2 separate regions of the Homo sapiens genome follow, and region 2 is linked to region 1. The links are contacts of gene promoters, found by promoter capture Hi-C in human tissues and cell types (Jung and others, 2019). All regions are on one chromosome and are shown on one strand. Each heading gives the region's core, a stretch centred on a gene start or on the middle of the fragment in contact. The rest is flanking DNA. Distances are from core to core; before and after follow the strand shown.

Region 1 (6,520 bases), core at 2,618-5,117:
TCAATGGTCAATTTTAAATTCTAGTGGCCTAACCAGCTATTATACTGGGAAATTATAGATTAAATATGCCTGGACATTCATAAGAATAAGGGCTTAAGAAATATTAGCTACTATCCCTATAAATGTCCCAATGCCTAGATCAGAGTCCCAAAGCACATCAAGAGTTCTAGACAAGATAGTACAGTTCTTTTTGAAAGGGTGAATGAGCAATTATAGTCTCTGGATTTGGAGAGTAATAAAAAAGTGGAGTCTCAAGTGTGAACTTTTTGTTTTCATTTTCCCTAAATGACCTATTTTTTTAAAAACTCTATAAATTCACATCCTAATCAAGATAAAATTTTCAGAAATAGATTTTAATTCATTCCTTTTCACTGAATGCACAGTGGTACTTAATAATACCAAAAATCCAGTTAGAAAGGAGAAGGTAAGTTTAACCCACCTACTAATGAAACAACACCTTTAAAAAGAAGGCATAATCCCTGTGGGCCAGCTGTGTGCCAGGCACTCACAGGCCAGCAAGTGCAAACAGCAAGGCTTGACTCTGAGTGAAACGGAACCGGGTCAAATCTGGCTCTTCCTCTACTAGCTGGGTGGCCTCAGGCAAAGTTACTTCATTTCTTTGACTCTATCAGGAGCCTCTGAACACACAGCTGACCTTCTAGCATGGAATCACTGGAATCCAGGCCAACTGCTGTCCCCTATGGGGTTTGGTGGGATTTATCATCTTGTTTCAAGGCCTACTTCACAAGACCCCAGAGATACTTTTTGGAGTCTTTCAAGATCAGACTGGCCAATCTACATGGCTATAAGAGACACATCATGGGAATTTAGTAGATTAAAAAGGGCCCTATTTGGCATTGAACCAAATGAGTATCAAGAGTCTAGCTGAGCCAAGATTCCCTTAATAACAAATGTATATGATATCCTATCAGAACAGTGCAGGTCTTCTCTATCTCATTGAACACCCACAACCTTCTCAAAGCTAGGCCCACTAACCTCCACTACCTGCTCTCTCCGGGGACACACCAGAGTTGAACACTAAGGACGGAGAGATGCATTCTTATCTGTGGACAGACAGGCTGTGATTTGAAAGTACTATAAGGTACACCTGGCTGACTGGAGTCTGGGTGGGCAGTTGAGGTTGTATTTCACATGAACTCATAACCCACATGGCTCCCTATGCAGCTTAAACCATGAAACATGGAGCACGTGCATGTTCCAACCATTTCCTACAGTGGCCTAGCTTTCACCCAATTCACTGTGCCTGCTGTCCAATCTATAATTCAGCTAACAGGGCCTTTGGGCTTAAGGCTGCTAAAGACAGGTTACCACTGAGCATTAGAGCTCTGGGAAAAACAAGCTCCTCTACTGAGATGTTGAATGTAACACCACCGCAGTATCTGTAGAATGAACTTCCCAAGACTTCAGATTTCTTATTTATACAGACTTCTGTGACTACAGCCTCCACTGCAACTTCAGTCTACAAAACATGGCTAACGAAGTGCTTTCGAGCTTGGGAGTTAAATTGCTCCTGAGAGTATGTCAGGAGCAAAGCTGAAAATGGTGATAACTTGGGGACAAAATATATATGTAATATTGGGATCACAATTTATTAGGAATTAATAAGCACTTGTATATCATATCCTTCTTGCCTAGCATTTATATAGGCTTAAAAAAATGGTAGCTAGTGTGATAATAATCCTTGCAGATCTCCTAGAGAACAGGCATGATCACCTTCAGCTAGCACTGTTGGTTGCTCACCTGTCATCTATTGGGAGAAAGCATTCTCCCTGTTTACAAGTAAGGAAACCAAAACAAGGAGGTTAGAGAACTTACCTAAGATTGCCTACTACATGCAGAGTAAAGTAAGGATCCAGATGGAGGCAGTTCAACTCTGGAATTTGGGCTATTAATCACTGTACCCTTCCATCTCTTCTGTTTATGTGAGGAGACTGAAATCTACAGACATAGAACTTCTCTGCTGTCATGCTGTTACCTGGATTGTACACAGAAGTCCAAATTACAGCTACATCCCCGTTTAAACAGTAAGCCGTTTCTAAATCTGAATCCTGAGGACTTTCGAGCAGCCAGAAGGGTTTTCAGACATTATGACATGCAGCAAGAAAGTACACAGAGAGAATTTTTTTAGATGAAAAGCCCCATCCAACAGTGGCTGATAACATTTTCTGTTCTCTGATAACCCCCTTGCTACTAGAGCAGCTGAAGATGACTCCAAATGCATGAATCTGTTCATCTGTTCACATGCTAAAAGAAAAAGGCCTGGCAGTTCATGATTAAAGAGGCACGAAAGTCCCCAGATCACAAATGCCCTTTCAAAAATTTTCCACATTTGTTCTAGTTTCAAGCCATGATAAAGAGTTTCCAATCAAATGCATCAGCTAAAATGAATCCATTTTCTGAAACAGAAGTGGCTAGTTTGGGTCCAGCACTTATAACGAAAGGTTCCTGGTGTCACAGACCATGAAATAAGACTGTTTGAAGTTGTTCCCATGGAGAATCCCAGAGGACTTTAAAACTTCTGAGCAGGAAGATCCTTGACCCTTGCCCAACTCCTTTCCACTTAACAGCGATGCAACTGAGCTGAAGAGACTTGTCCAAAGCCACTGAGCAGGTTAGTTAGTGGCAGGGCTAAAATCTGTAATGAGGGGTTGGTCATGCGCAGGTTGCAAACAGCCTTGTCCAAGGATTCACACTTGGAGTAGATACATTGCACCCTCACTTTTGACTAGGCCTAACTTCTGGTACAAACCTGTGGAGTCAAAATCTGATTTTAAATATTGTAAAAAACAAAAACAAACAACCTCTCATTTTTCAGATCTCTCAATGAAAACTTTAGGGCCAAATCAAGAAATCATAAGGCTATCATAGGCCCTTACATAAAAATGGCCTTAAAATATACACACAACCTCCTTTTCATAGAAGACAGAGAGCCAGAGAGATAGAAATACAGAAAGAGAGGGAGAAAGAATACTTTGCCCCTGACATATACACACAAAAGTACTTGGCTTACTGTAAGCAAAAAGCAAAAAAAAAAAAAAAAAAAAACAAAACAAAAACCCTCAAACTCCTTTGTCTTAAGGGCAGAGAGAAAGGTGACAAAATTTGAAATAAAGTGAGCCACTGAAGACAGGAATGGGCAAACTCCAGCTAGCCTGGAACTATCCCGGTTTCCTCTGTGAACCAGCCTAGGGGCTTCCCCTCGGTCCGCCCCTGCACGGAAGGACGTGCGTGACACTGGGCTGCGTCATTGGCAGAACTGCCCGCGCCCAGAAAACGAGCTGGAGTGGAGAACAGAATGCAATTGCAGACAATCTTCCTCTGGTTCCCTGGGGAGGCCTGCTCTGGGCAGAGAGATCCCAGGGGACTGTGCGGGAAGGAGCTAAAGCAATAGCCCAAAAGCGCCAGGGAATGCACTTGAAGTTTCAGACGTTTTTCTTTTCTTTGAAACTAAGTTTCCAGCCCACCAGGAAAAACTGCCTCGCGACCTAGTGATTTTAATCTCACGCTTGGCCGCAAGCCGCTGCCTCGAGACTGGAAACCGGCCGCGAGGCGCTCTATCCCCCTGACCCCCTCCCCCCGCGCTCACCTGCGATATCCCAGAGCTGCAGGCGCACCACAGTCTCCGGGTCCCAGTGGAGCACCTTGAGCGCGAAGTCCACGCCGATTGTGGCCCGGTAGTGCGAAGAGAAGTTCTGGTGCACGTAGCGCTTGATGATACTGGTCTTCCCCACGCCCAGGTCGCCAATCACCAGCAACTTGTACAGGTGCTCCTTGTGCGGGGCCTGCATCCTGGCGGCCGGCCAGACGTGCCGTGCCTGACCAGGGAAGCGCAGCCTGGGCTCTGCGCACGAGAGAGACTTGGGGAGCGCAAGTGTAGGTGCAGAGAGAGGCGTGGGCGGCGGGGCGGGGGCTGGGGGGCGGAACTCCTCCCCTAGGGGTTAATCCTCCTTCCTACTCCGCGGTCTTGGAGAGGGGAGGAGACAGGAGCGAGTCCCGGGACTGGCAGCTGAAAGGGGTTCGCGTGTGGTTGCCTGTTGCAGCGCTTATTTATCCGGCGCTTTAGAGTTTCCGAAGAGCTGTTTTCACCTGTGACCCTGGCCACAAACTTGTGAGGTGTGGATCTTATTTTCCACGTTTTGCTTGCGAGAAAACTGATTGTGAAAAAGTACTCTGCGGGAGATGGCCGGTGAAAGGCCCCGTTGACCACAGGTCTGAAGTCACAGGCTCTTAACTACCCCACACTGTAGAGAGAAATTACAGTATTAGGAAGCCCAAGACTGGCTGGGCTTGGTTCCTGCGTGCCCTGGTTTTTAAGTTGAGGGACCATAAGTAAGTCATTTGAGCTCTCACAGCCTGTTATTTCTCAATGAATGGCAATGCTGACCTCTGAGCAGCTTGGAGGTGGGAACACTGAGCACTTTCACACCCATTCAACTGGTAATCAGTTAACAAGGAGGACAACTGGGCCGAAAATGCCAAGGGCACTGGTGACTTTTAGCCTCTTCCCATATCCTAAAAACTCAGAGCTGCACAGAAAGACAGTTTTAACAATCGGTCAGATTATTACAAATAATAATAATGGCAAACATTTATTGAGCACTCGCTATATGCCAGAGGGTTTATAAATTATGTCATTTAGTCATCCCAGCTGTCTTAATAATAGATACCATTTTTCTTCCTATTTTACAAATGAGGAAGCTAAGGACCAGACATTTTAAGTAATGGACCCAGAGTCAAATAGTAAGGAAAAAAACCAAATTCAAACATAGGTCTTTAGGTTCCCAACTTCTTTTTGTTGTTTTTGTTGTTTGTTTTCATTCATTTGACCAATATACATTTTATTACCAATTAATATATGACAAATTGTACTTATTTTGTCTTGTCTGTCTCCACCTACAAGAAGGTAAATTTTTTTGAGGCCAGTAGGCATTGTCTGCGTTAGGATTTCTGTATCATCCTCCTAACGCAGACAATGCCTACTGGCCTAAGAAAAATTTACCTTCTTGTGGGTGGAGACAGGACAAGACAAAATAAATACAATTTGTCATATATTAATTGGTAATAAAATAAGGCAGAAAGGGGATGTGAAGAGATTATATGGGGTTTGCCTTTTAGATAGGGTGGCCAGGGAAGGTTTCAGTAAGATGGAGACAATTTAGTAAAGACATAAAGAAAATGAGAAATTGGGCATTCAGGGCTAGGGGGTGAGCAGTTTATACCAAAATGAGCTATTTTGTACCTGAATGTGCTGTGAAGGAGCTCTGCTCACATTCTATCATTTCATCTTCTCAATTGCTTTATGAAGTGGGTTATTTTCTTCAATTTATAAATAAGGAAACCAAGATTAACAGCAGCTTTCTCAAGGGCACACATAACTAGTATGTGTTAGAACTAGGACTTAAACACAGGCCTGTGTGAAAGGGAGAAAGGAGGTTTGGCAAGGCCATTGTCTTTCTGCCTTCCTCTTCTGGCCTGACACTCCCTAAACTTTAGCCTCCACATGCCCCAAACAAGCAGAGGGATGCTGAAGATGTGTACCCGGGACAAGTCACATAACCTCTGAGCCTTGGTTTCCACATCAACGAAAGGAGAATGATAATACCTATGGCAGGGCATGGTTGCTCATGATTGTAATCCAAGCACTTTGGGAGGCTGAGGTGGGTGAATCACTTGAGGTCAGGAGTTCAAGACCAGCCTGGCCAACATGGTGAAACCCGTCTCTACTAAAAATACAAAAATTAGCCGGGCGTGGTGGCAGGTGACTATAATCCCAGCTACTTGAGAGGCTGAGACAGGAGACTATCTTGAACCAGGGATGCAGAGGTTGCAGTGAGCCAAGATCACACCATTGCTCTCCAGCCTGGGTAACCTGAGCAAGACTCTATCTCTAAATAAATAAATAAATAAATAAATAAATAAATACAAATGAAATTGTTGATAAAATGCTGGGTCCATAGTAGGTGGTAAATAAATTGTAGCTATTACTATGAAATGAGGGACAAGCTTAAAATACTGTCCACAGGCACTGTCCTGTGCAGTTTCATCTTTCCTCAGAGAGTAACTCAGAAGTTTTGCTCAGAATGGACACTAAGTGACAGTGTGTAGAATTGCAGTCGTTTGTGTTTTATTGAAGTGCTTAGCTGGGTAGGCCTCATTTACTGGTTTCCACCCATGCGAGGACACACCAAGAAGATCACATCTAACAAGTGAGACAAATACTCTACCTGCTTAAAGAATTAGCCAACAATGTCACCTCACTTCCCAGGGAGGGGAATTCAGTAGCCCAAGATGCTTAAGCCATTCTAAATGCCTGCAAAATTAGGGAGGATGACAAAATGAGACCTTTGCCAGCTCTAAAATCCTGGGTCTGTAAATCTGAGAGACAGGCTTTGTCTGGCCAACAAGCTCCTGGGGTAGAAACAAGGTAGGAGTTTGAGACATCTTGTGGGCCAGCCTTCAAAATTATACCCAACCCAACTTTCTTACCAGCCCCGTACTG
Region 2 (6,520 bases), core at 1,347-3,846, 630 kb after region 1:
CTTCATTTCTTTACCCCTAAACTGTAAGATATTGCTTAAATTTTAAAAGAGAACTTCAAGACAATGATTATCTTCTTTTAAGACTTGATTCAAATATTGCTTCTTCTGTGAAGTCTTCCCTAACTTGCCCAGGCAAAACAAGGTTTTACTTTCCCTAGGCTGTATTTGCATTTTATTTTATGTTGTACAAATTATCTGTTGACATGGATTTCTCACTGGACTCTACATCTCTTAATGGTAAAGGCATTGCCTTTTTACCTCTATATCTGCATTTTCTGCCATAAACCTTGACATAGACAGTTTTAAAAAATGCTTATTGAACACATGAATGGGTGGAAAATGTCAGAATTTCAAAAAATGTTTAAAAGCTGTCTTAAACCTTCAGGCAACCTTAGAAAGGGGATCTTTGGAATCCTCTCAAATGAAGCATATTACTGAATTTGTACCCTACCTACAAACCTATACTAGACTCAACTCTGTCCCTAGCCTGTAATGTCCATTCAATAAAATCTTGTCACTTTATTTTATTTTAGAAAGCTTATCCTATCTACAATAGGAGTGTTATTTTAAAATCTGAAGAGAAAAGAAAAAGAGAAACTGGTTAGGAGACTTTTGCTCAAATGGGAAGCAATTAAGATTGAAACTAGATTGGTGTCAGTGGGAGAATAAGAAAAGGACCCACTTGGTAAGCACTTACTGCTGGGCCCTGTGAGTCGAGCAATTGATGGTATGCCATCTTTTTGAGAAACCTTCTAACTACAAGTTATCATTGGTAATCAGTCTGTTAAGCAAGTCTGTCACCAAAAGAGAGATCTGATATTCAAATTGCATTTAGTGTTTCAAAAAACAGAGTGCAGGCAGATTTTCTTCATATAAACTACTTTTTTTTAGGCATCTGAAATTAATGAATTGCAAAATTCAAATAACATGTTTTATACAATTTGAATAAAAATGTGCTAAGAGAAACTGAGTTATACGTATTAGTCAATTAACAAGCTGCTTCTCATTTGCCATGTAGTTTTTATAACACTTTAGAACATTTCTTTCTCAGTATTTGTTATCATTTATAGAATAATTTTAATCCCCAAAATAGGCATATTAGACATTTTATAGCATATGTTTTCATAGAATATTCATTTATAAATTTCTAGATACTGGTTAATCTATAATAGGGTGTTTACTGATTACTATATAATATCTACTATTCAATAATTGTGTATGTGATGGTATATATATTACATACTGGCAATTATTTATAGAAGAGACATTTTACATAGTATATATATGGAATGCACAGACATGTGTATTTAAGCCTTGTTACTTGCTATCTCATATTTGAATTTTCCACTAGAATATAAGTTTTGAAATGACTTTATTTTCTAATCTCTAATAGCAAGATATAAGAAAATCTGGCTGTCCTTAGATACTGTATATATGTACTTTACAGCCATAGAATTTTAGTTGCAGCATGCAGGGTATGTATTTACCATGTAAACTGTATAGTTAAAATAATTTACAGATGGTCAGATAAATAAATAGAAAGAATATTAAACAATGTGTTTGCATTTAGATTATCATTTTTAATGTTTCCACTATACAGGAACAGATAAGCAGAGAATGGCATGGATCTTTATAGTTAAATAGCATGGATTTGTGAAAAACCACTTTAGTGAAGTGAAAAAGTATATTTCCACAGACATTATTAAGAGGTGAGAATTTCTCAAAGCCACATTGTAACATAGTGACCATAACATATGACACTTCTCAGTGTCATCATGTTATATTGGAATGTAAAATATTATTGCAAGAAAGATAATAAAAATGGCATCAAAATTAGCTACCTTAACAGCTTCTCTTTTTCAATCTCTTAGTCTTCCTAGATGAACTCCTGGCTTGGCAGAAATCTCTGAATTCTGCTCGTTCCATGTTCATGAATACTAATAATGTACCTCGAAATATGATCCCTTAACATGAATTAATTCTGCTTCCCAGGATATATTTTTATTTTTCACATTTCACAAAGATTTATGAGAAATAATTGTTTGGCATTTATCGGCATCCATGTTCCACTAATTAACATCCTTGTATATCCATGGGGAAGAATAGACAGAATCTAACAATCCACTTCCTTTATCTTTTAACAACGTGTTTGTTTCTGTTTGGAGACTGTTAATTAGTTTAACCTTAGACTCTTTAAAAGCATTTTATTTCTTTTTTAATTCACAAGTTACTGAGAAAAAGCATAGAGCAACTGATTCAAATTAAGAACAAAGCATTATCTCATATATTTCTTATAAGGGAGGAATTAATTGAAAAATAATCTCATCGTGGAGAGAGGGAAATATCCAGCTGGAGGAGAGGAGGTGATAAGTCACTGTATTTTCTTATGTTTCATCAGACTTCTTTCCCCTCTAAGGGGCAAGTTAGAGGCTTATTCTAATAAGCTCTTAACTGTAGCCAGTTTATTCAAGTTTAAGCTCTCAGCTTCATCATATATTGGCTTTTCAATCTTAAGCAAGCCAATTAGGATGGTGGCAGAGGAGTGTAGAGGTTATATAGATTCATTTGGTCATTTGTTTCCTTTGGTCAGCCAGGCACTTTGCTTTATGTAGTTCATCTCATTTAATCTTTGTAAAGATTATTATTTTTACTGTTCATCAAAGTAGGCATGATTAACTTTGCTATATTCTAGAAAATGGAAACCCAGTGATATTAAACAACCAAGTTAATGACTGGTAAAGATAATAAACATACACTTGGGCAATTTGGGGAAAGAAATAAAATAATATATGTACTTTGAAAACAAGGCAGCATTAAAGACATGTAAGATATGACATCATATAGGGACATTCAATCAAGATGAACTGAGACCAGGTATAATGCAGTTAATATGTCAAAAAAAAAAAGTTGAGGAGATTCTTCAGGAATATGGTTGCCAGATTTAGCAAATAAAAATATCAAATATCTGTTAAATTTGAATTTTAGAAAACTAGTTAATTTAGCATAAATATATCCCATGCAATCTTAGGGATAGCTGATACTAAACAAATGTGTTTCTTAAACCTGATATTTGAATTTAATTGTGTGTCTTGTATTTTATCTAACTGCCCTACTCAGGGACTTTCCTTTATAAGAAATAAAGGCTAGAGAGGCCTCTACTACTGAGGACAGGAACTGGGAAAGCTGTTACAGTAGGACCTCTGTGCTTTGATTATGCATCTAATATGATGACTTTCATTATTGGAGATTAGGCCCCAAGTATGAGAAAGACTGAAGAGTAAAATGGTTTGGAAAAACTGCAGCCTAGATTAGCAAGTTTGAGATAATGGAAGGGTGCTATGTATGGCAGTAACACTGAGATCCATAAAAGCCAGTAATAATTAGGTTTGGATAGCTGAGTAAAGCTTTGGTTAAAAAAACTTGGGCTGGCTCTTGAAAAATGAGTATATGAAGAGGAATAAAAGAGGATTAGTCTCTGGTGGCATTAGTAAAAATAAAACATGGGAATGAGTCCTTTTCAAATATCAATTCTGTACAAACATCTGTAGCTACACAAATATTACATGAAGAAACAGCTGAGAAAAAAGTAAATGCTCATATATAAGATTAGCAAGGTATGGTGGGGCCCAGCAAGACAGGGATTAAATTAGGAAGAGAGTAGATACTGAAGATCGGTCAGGGAGCTGTTAGAGTAAGCATCCTGAAGAAGGCATAAACAGGCAGAATGAATCCTGTTCGTTGCTCCTACAAACATGCAGCATAGGAGGAAGGGAAACAGCTTTTACTGAGAAGCTGTATTTGTGTCAGTCATTGATATTTTATCATATTAAATATTCAAAGTTAAATTAATTGTGAAGTATAAATATGTATGTCAGTATGAAGATGACCAATGCCAACCAGGATCATTGAATAAAAAAGAGTTTTGTTTAATCTATTTATTGCCATCTATGTCCAAAGAGGAAGTCAATATTGGCAGATAGTCTCCTTGTGCTCAAAGAGTTCAAAAAACTATGTCACAACTTAAGAGAAACAGAACTGGAATTAGGAAATCTGGTTGTGCTATTAACAAGTTAACAGAGTTTATTCATCTGTAAAACGGGAACAAGACTATCTCAGAGAAAAAGTATAAAGATTCTATTAGATAAGTTTTGGGCAAAGATTATCTCAGCTCTAATATTCTAAGTTCCCTCCTATGGAAAAGCCATTATTCTAGAAACACCTTTTTTTGTTTTTTTTCCATTCTCAAGATGCTATGCCTTAACAACACTGGGGGGTGGATCACTTAGAAGGACAACAATTCAAGTATTCAAATACGTGTTTCCAGCAGGACAGAGACTAAGCTGGTGCCTTTGAGGACAAATAACAGAAGATTTTTTTTGGAAAACATTCTGAACACATTTTGATAGACTTTGTGACAGTTTGGAGAAAAAAGATACAGAGCATTAAAAGCGGGATATGAAATCTAAAATATAAGGAAACAAGGACTTTGGGAATCTGAACCAGGAAACAGAAACTCAGTTTGAATATTTTATAACAAAGACCTGTTGTAGAATCCACAGTATTCTCTACTATTCTGTGCTGTAGAAAAATTATGACCCTGGGTTCTTTTAGATACAGAAAGAAGAAAATATTCCAGCAGGTCTCTCTTAGAAGTAGAGAAGAACATTTGCTTTTTGGTCTGATATCAGCCTTAGAGCATTTTTGCAGATTGGGCTCACTCTGTAGAATGAAAGTAGAATGAATTCTCAAAATTAGGGAGAACGGTCTCTATAATTTAATACCTATAGGACAAACTATATGTATGACAAGATGAGAAGTAATGATACAAAATTATGTACTGTTTTATGTATTAAGTGAGATATCTTACATAAAGCATACCACAGGCACACAATATATGGTGATTTCCTTCCCTCTCCAATCACACCCTGCCCCTTCCAGATCCAATGCATATCCTCTTCCAGGGGTACCATGCGCCAACTTACCCAGAGCTCAGTGGTACAAATTTACAGCACCTATCAGTGATAACAGCCAGAAATGACATACTCTTCCCAAAAAAGGCTTTTCTCTGCAGCGTAGAGGGTAGAATTAGGTCAGTTATGTAAGACTCATATTAAACGAGTACACTTTGGGCCACTTTGGTGATATTGTTAATGTTTCTGCCTTCAAGTGGTTACAAAAGGAAGGTGAAGTTAATTTCCCTTGCTTCGGAAGTTCTGTTTTATAAGTCTGAAGGGTACAATATTGAAATGATAACCTACATTCAATATTAACCATTTGCTGCCAAAGTAAATACTATATTTCGATAATTTCATAAATATCCAAGAGAAATTGTCCCAATATTCACATATATTGAAGTTAGCTCATCAGGAAAAGTCATTTTAGTGATGAGGCTCTGAAGAGGCCCCCAAAAATTGAGATAATTATAGTGATACGTCAACTGCAAAAACCATATTTGTGAGAGATGCTCAGTTATGTCTGAATAAGAATCTTAGAATTATAGAATGTTCCAACTGGAGAGGATCTTGTCTAACACATTTATCATAGAGATAAAGCAATTAAGACCTGGAAATGTTAAATTATTTGCTTAGGATTGCCCAAGAAATGGAAGAGATGGTTCTGAACCAGGTCTTTTGACTTAATTTTTTTCTAATGCATTTGTTATAGAGATAAAGCAACTAAGACAAGGAGATGTTATTTGTTCTGCATTGTTCAGTAAGTGGAAGAGACAAAAATATTTTTCAATCAACAAACTCTTACTGTTGATGTTAATATGGCTGACACTGCCTCTCTGCCTTAAAGTGTATTACAATAAAATGCAAAGACACCTATGAAAACCTTTCATCATAAAAGACGAAATTTCATTTTTTTCCCAAAACCCAGGTTTTAACACAGAAAACTTTGAGCTCCAAGAATTAAAATACTCTTTTTGAAGCTAGAATACTAAACATCCAATTTTGCATGTAGGGAAATAGAAACAAATATTTTAAATGTTTTGAACATAGTTTTCACAGCTAGAAAATTACTTAAAAAAAGGCCTCTCAATCTCTGTCTATGCTTGTTTCATTCATATTTTATAGCTTTTCTCACCTGAATTCTGGTAAATCCTTATCTTTCTGTCTTACCTCCCTATCACTCATCCTGAATTTCATATATTTATATTTGATTTTTGTTTTAACTCCGGGGAAGATTAGTATTTATCTCATTTTAATATTTTCTCTTTGTGCATTTCAGTACATTGCTTTAGTATTCTAATGTCCTCCAAAATTTAGATTTCTTGCAAAAGAAACTGCTGATTCTTACCAGGTTTGTATCACAAATAAATCTTTTAAATACCGTCTTTTAGTCTTCCAACAAGTTGCTGACATTTTATTCATGTTTGTATCCCTGTGACTTGCAGGTAGGGGGTACTAAATGCTGTCTGCTAAGTGCATGAATGATTAATGGAACAGCACAAAGGGGAGCACCCCAGGCTGGGGATTTTTTAGTTCTCTCACTAGGTTTGCCAAGATGTTTCAATCAG

What was found. The method cuts DNA at HindIII sites, captures the fragments that hold promoters and counts their contacts. A contact is called where the count stands out against the background at its distance.
Region 2: a fragment that was not itself captured here is called in contact with the fragment with the promoter of RAB38 in region 1 in 1 of the 25 tissues and cell types used here (lymphoblastoid cells).

The regions. Positions count from the first base shown.
Region 1 is chr11:88,171,576-88,178,095 of GRCh38, forward strand. It overlaps RAB38 (RAB38, member RAS oncogene family), which reads right to left and starts at 3,868. Exons shown (of 3, transcript NM_022337.3): 1 at 3,608-3,868. The coding sequence starts at 3,809. It overlaps MIR3166 (microRNA 3166), which reads left to right and starts at 4,927; the gene lies at 4,927-5,018. The HindIII fragment of the contact is 10,731 bases long and covers 1-6,387 here.
Region 2 is chr11:88,806,875-88,813,394 of GRCh38, forward strand. All of the region lies in intron 3 of GRM5 (glutamate metabotropic receptor 5), which reads right to left. Among named protein-coding and RNA genes, the nearest start is that of GRM5, 260 kb to the right of the region's middle. The HindIII fragment of the contact is 6,526 bases long and covers 1-5,859 here.